Linked DNA regions of Homo sapiens: region 2 is linked to region 1. The links are contacts of gene promoters, found by promoter capture Hi-C in human tissues and cell types (Jung and others, 2019). All regions are on one chromosome and are shown on one strand. Each heading gives the region's core, a stretch centred on a gene start or on the middle of the fragment in contact. The rest is flanking DNA. Distances are from core to core; before and after follow the strand shown. Region 1 holds the start of DENR (density regulated re-initiation and release factor). Region 2 overlaps CLIP1 (CAP-Gly domain containing linker protein 1).

Region 1 (2,845 bases), core at 208-2,707:
CCCACTCCTTAACGGGCCACCCTCCCTATACGATACACCAGACAAACTCAAAGCTGCTCACTTCTTCACAGACAGCCATCAAGCTTTTTCTTACATAGTCGTGCGCTTTGTCTGGGACGCCGTTCCCCACCTTCTCATCCAGTCCTTGCCATCCTTAACTCATAATCTTCCAAGAAGCCCTCCTTTGACAGCTAGACTAGCATACACCTTGAGGACCTTCAGGCTGAAATAACCTAGTTGCACATCCTGTTACAAATGGACTGTAAGCTTCTTCAGGCAGAGTAGCCAGACACAAATCACCCAGGTGGGGAAACTCTGTTAATTCATGCCTCCTCCTCCCCAGGACTCCTCTCCCCCAGTACAAACTCACCAAATGAAAAGGATGGGGAAGAAAGCTTACCAAATGTCAAACTGTTATTACAATGCATAAAAGTATAGTGAGTAAAAGTCATTCTGTGGCTACCAACACTTGCCTCCACAATAAAGGACTCGAAGTGGGTAATCGGCATCTAACTTGGCACTGTTCCTTGGGTCTCCTTTGCAGTCAGCCCCGCTGGATTCAGAAATGTCAGCAGCCATTTCACAAACCTGTAAGCAAGGAAAATAACACACCCTCACTATTTTAGAATCAAGACCCCAGAAGAGCAGTGTTCCTCTCAACAGAAACCTCCCCACCCCAAAGCTGTTTCAAGTCTGTTGTTGAGTGGGGGATACAAGCTGCATTCGATTCATAAAATATGAGCAATCCCAGGCACAACATCTCCTTGCTCCACAGGTCTACAGGGAAGCAAGCAGCAAATGGACCATGAAGGATGGGGCAGAGGGACTCACTAGAGAAAAACAGGAAGCAATGGGGAAGGAAAGATGGGGTGAGTACCCACGGCAGACACGGAGCAAAAAGGTCTGAGGGTGATCTGGGAGGGATGCAAACTGCAGTGAGAGAAGGGCTACAAAGGCGCCGAATGGAGAGAGGCTGGAAGTGCCTAGGAACAAGGGGTGGGTCATCGGAGAAGCCCGGGGTGCAGGGTGTGGGGGCAACTAAACGCCATGAGAGGGGCCTGGGGAGTCTAAAAAGGGCATGGGAGGGGGCGGGGTAACCAGAGCGTAAGAAGGATGAGGAGAGAAAACGAGCGCAGAATGTAAGAGCACTGAGGGGACAAGGGCGACCAGGTCTGAGGCGAAGGAGCAACCCCGGGGACGCCAGAAGGGGCCCTTGTGGGCGGGGGTGTGGAGAGGCCCGGCCCGGCCCCCTTCCGCCAGGCAGCATCTCAGCTTCCCCCACACTCTCTACGAGCTTCTCGGGAGCGGGAGAAGCACTTGGGGTCGTTACCCAGGCGGTCGCACAGGCCCCGCCGGCTCCGCTCCCGCCGCTATCGCCAGCTGAACCAACACATGCAACTCGTCTCCCCGGCCAGGGCCGCCCGAGCGCCCGACCGCCAGCAGCGCTCCCGCGAGACAATGAGCCTTTATCGCGAGATTCCGGCCGCCGCTGGGCGGATGTCGCGAGAAGCCGGAAGACGGGGGCGGAGAAAAATTGCGGAGCGTGCGCCTTGCCCTCCGGTGGGGGGCGTGGCCAAGAGGCCGAGAGGCGGGCCGCCGGCAGGCGGTGCTCGTCACCCGTTGGAGAGGATGAATCCTCGAGATGGGCGTGCCGAAGGGAACGTGACTTGCAGACGCAGAGAGCGCACCTGAGTCACAAATGACTCCCTATTAATGAGTCCGAGGATCATCGCCTCGGTGTCTGCGGTGCATCCTGGAGTCCTGACTAACCTCCAGCTACTGCATAAATCACTCCCGTGCGGGGAGATTGCAGCCGGATAGAGCGTTTGGTCGCATTTTAACACCATGCACTGAATTAAAGGAAGGTGTTCTCCCTCCCTCCCTCCCTCCCTTCCTTCTTTCCTTCCTCTCTTCTTTTCTCTCTCTCTTCGCCGGATGGAGCGTTTGGTTGCGTTTTAACACCATACACTAAATTAAAGGAATTCTTTTTTCTTTCTTTTCTGTTCTTTCTTTTCTTTCTTCTTTCTCTTCTTTCTGTCTCTTTCTTCCCCTTCCCTCCCTCCCTCCCTTCCTTCCTTCTTTCCTTCCTTCCTCCCTCCCTTCCTTCCTTCCTCCCTCCCTTCCTTCATCCTTTTCTTTATGTTTTGACAGGGTCTCACTCTGTCACCTAGGCTGGATGGAGTGCAGTTGCACAAACACGGTTCACTGCAGCCTCGACCTCCCAAGTAGTTGGGAATACAGGCGCGCGTTACCACACCCAGCTAATTTTTAATTTGTTTATAGAGGTGGGGGAATCTCCCTATGCTGTCCAGGCTGGTCTCGAACTCCCGGACTCAAGGGATCCTCCCGCCTCCGCCTCCCAAAGTGCTGGGATTACAGGCGTGAGCCACCGCGCCCGGCCTACAATTTTTTTTAATGAAAAAAAGAAAAATGTAAGAGTATGGGAATATATGGGGAAAAGAAAGATCAGATTGTTACTGTGTCTGTGTAGAAAGAAGTAGACATAAGAGACTCCATTTTGTTCTGTGCTAAGAAAAATTCTTCTGCCTTGAGATGCTGTTAATCTGTAACCCTACCACCAACCCTGTGCTTCCTGAGACCTGTGCTGTGTCAACTGAGGGTTAAATGGATTAAGGGCTGTGCAGGATGTGCTTTGTTAAACAAATGCTTGAAGGCAGCATGCGCCTTAAGAATCATCACCACTCCCTAATCTCAAGTACCCAGAGACACAATACACTGCAGAAGGCCGCAGGGACCTCTTCCTAGGAAAGCCAGGTATTGTCCAAGGTTTCTCCTCATGTGATAGTCTGAAATATGGCCTCGTGGGAAGGGAAAGACCTGACCA
Region 2 (2,700 bases), core at 104-2,603, 410 kb after region 1:
ACTCATCAGAAGGAGATAAAGGCTCTGTATACCGCCACGGAAAAGCTTTCCAAAGAGAACGAGTCATTGAAAAGCAAGCTGGAGCATGCCAACAAAGAGAACTCAGATGTGATAGCTCTATGGAAGTCCAAACTGGAGACTGCCATCGCATCCCACCAGCAGGCGATGGAAGAACTGAAGGTATCTTTCAGCAAAGGGCTTGGAACAGAGACGGCAGAATTTGCTGAACTAAAAACACAAATAGAGAAAATGAGACTAGATTACCAACACGAAATAGAAAATTTGCAGAATCAACAAGACTCTGAACGGGCTGCCCATGCTAAAGAGATGGAAGCCTTGAGGGCTAAACTGATGAAAGTTATTAAAGAAAAGGAAAACAGTCTGGAAGCCATCAGGTCGAAACTGGACAAAGCAGAAGACCAGCATCTCGTAGAAATGGAAGACACGTTAAACAAATTACAGGAAGCTGAAATAAAGGTAAAGGAGCTAGAGGTACTGCAAGCCAAATGCAATGAACAAACCAAGGTTATTGATAATTTTACATCACAGCTCAAGGCTACTGAAGAAAAGCTCTTGGATCTTGATGCACTTCGGAAAGCCAGTTCCGAAGGTAAATCGGAAATGAAGAAACTTAGACAGCAGCTTGAGGCAGCTGAGAAACAGATTAAACATTTAGAGATTGAAAAGAATGCTGAAAGTAGCAAGGTTTGTATTGACATCCTCCATTCTTTTCTTTTCCATTTGTTATTCTTGTTTTGCATTATGTTACTTTTGAGTTGAGATCATTCATCTTCCAAATTGCTGATTTAATTAAATTGCTTGATGTCCCCAGTTGAGTATAGTGTAGTATGTTCTGAGTATCTCAAGTATGGTTTCATCTGAGGAGATTAGAGAAAATAATGGCTCAACCATGTGAATTTATTTTGGTTGCCTGTTATCTGGGTACCTGATCTATTTATCTCTGGGCTATGCTGTGACTTCTAATTTAAGCTTAGCTCCAGTCTATAATCTGTTTAAAATAAAGAATGCCCTAACACTATGGTGTTAAGATGAATGAATGAACAGAAACTCAAAAGATCGGCCAGGCGCAGTGGCTCACGCCTGTAATCCCAGCACTTTGGGAGGCTGAGGCAGGTGATCACCTGAGGTCAGGAGTTCGAGATCAGCCTGGCCAACATAGTGAAACCCCATCTCTACTAAAAATACAAAATTAGCCTGGCATGGTGGCGGACACCTGTAATCCCAGCTACCCAGGAGGCTGAGGCAGGAGAATCACTTGAACAACCCGGGAGGCGGAGGTTGCAGTGACCTGAGATTATTCCACTGCACTCCAGCCTGGGAGACAGAGCAAGACTCTGTCTAAAGGAAAAAAAAAAAAAAAGCTTAAAAGATCATCTCCTCCTCTTCTAACCACATATAGTCAGGTGCCACATAATGATGTTTCAATCAACAATGGACCACATAAACAAAGGCGGTTCCATAAGATTGTAATATGGTATCTTTACCTTTTGTATGTTTAAATATGCTTTGATACACAAATACTTAGCATTGTGTTACAGTTGCCTACAACATTCAGTACAGTAACATTTTATACAGGTTTATAGTATAGGAACAATAGGCTGTGCCACGTAGCCCAGGTGTGTAGTAGACTATACCTTCTAGGTGTGTGTAAGTGCACCCTGTGATGTCCCCACAACAATGAAATGCCTAATGATGCATTTCTCATAAGATATCCTGGTTCTTAAGCAATGCATGACTGTAATTGCTTATCTATAGGGTTATGTATAAAAACAGACTGAATTCAGTGCTTCTTGACTATTATAAATTAACATGTTGGCCGGGCAAGGTGGCTCATGCCTGTAATCCCAGTGCTTTGGGAGGCTGAGGCAGGCGGATCAGTTGAGGTCAGGAGTTTGAGTCCAGCCTGGCCCCTGTCTACTAAAAATACAAAAATTAGCCAGGTGTGGTGGTGTGCGTCTGTAGTCCCAGCTACTCAGGAGGCTGAGGCACAAGAATTGCTTGAACCCGGGAGGTGGAGGTGGCAGTGAGCTGAGATCGTGCCACTGTACCCCATCCTGGGCGACAGAGCAAGACTCCATCTCCAAAAAACAAAAAAAAACCCATGCTGTGATAAATAACATTCACAGCAAAATTAAGGGTAAGAGCTTGGAGCCCTTTGCATGGCAGAAATCTCATTGGAGTTTTTTTCTGTGGCATAATGAGAACATGATCTGTCCCCTCCTTTTCTGGGGGAAATACTGAACAAGTGTGCATGTGGTCAAGGCTTAGGAAATTACGTGAAACATTCGCCAGCTGCATTCCTTACTAACTAGCCTTGTTAAATGTCATCTTTATCTTTAAAGGTGGTTCGAGGAATTGTTTCCCAGTCCTGCCACTAGTTGAGGCACTGGTATTGATGCTCAATGTTCTGAACTTTTTTGTGGGAGAAGCTGCTCTATTGGCAAAGAAGGAAGGGTTGTGATGGTTAAATGGGGTGAGGTGAGGACTGACAAACAGCAAAAAATTGCTAACTAACCATAGTCGAAGATGACAAACTGGTTACAGGAAATTTTTCTCAAATCTCCTCATGTGGTTCCGAAATACTAATCAAAACACAAAAATTAATTAGAAGATAATATTTAGCTAATGCTAGTTTACTTTTTAACATCAAGATTTCATGAAAGCCAAGTTCTAATGACT

What was found. Contacts are between HindIII fragments. The study calls those that stand out against the background at their distance.
Region 2: a contact is called between a fragment that was not itself captured here and the fragment with the promoter of DENR in region 1, in 1 of the 25 tissues and cell types used here (psoas muscle).

Annotation. Positions count from the first base shown.
Region 1 is chr12:122,751,436-122,754,280 of GRCh38, reverse strand. It overlaps DENR (density regulated re-initiation and release factor), which reads right to left and starts at 1,457. Exons shown (of 8, transcript NM_003677.5): 1 at 1,331-1,457; 2 at 474-588. The coding sequence starts at 579. RefSeq lists enhancers at 949-1,008, 2,100-2,845 and a silencer at 1,149-1,198. The HindIII fragment of the contact is 19,306 bases long and covers 1-2,845 here.
Region 2 is chr12:122,338,758-122,341,457 of GRCh38, reverse strand. CLIP1 (CAP-Gly domain containing linker protein 1) reads left to right here. Exons shown (of 26, transcript NM_001247997.2): 11 at 1-705. Among named protein-coding and RNA genes, the nearest start is that of CLIP1-AS1, 55 kb to the left of the region's middle. The HindIII fragment of the contact is 3,429 bases long and covers 1-2,700 here.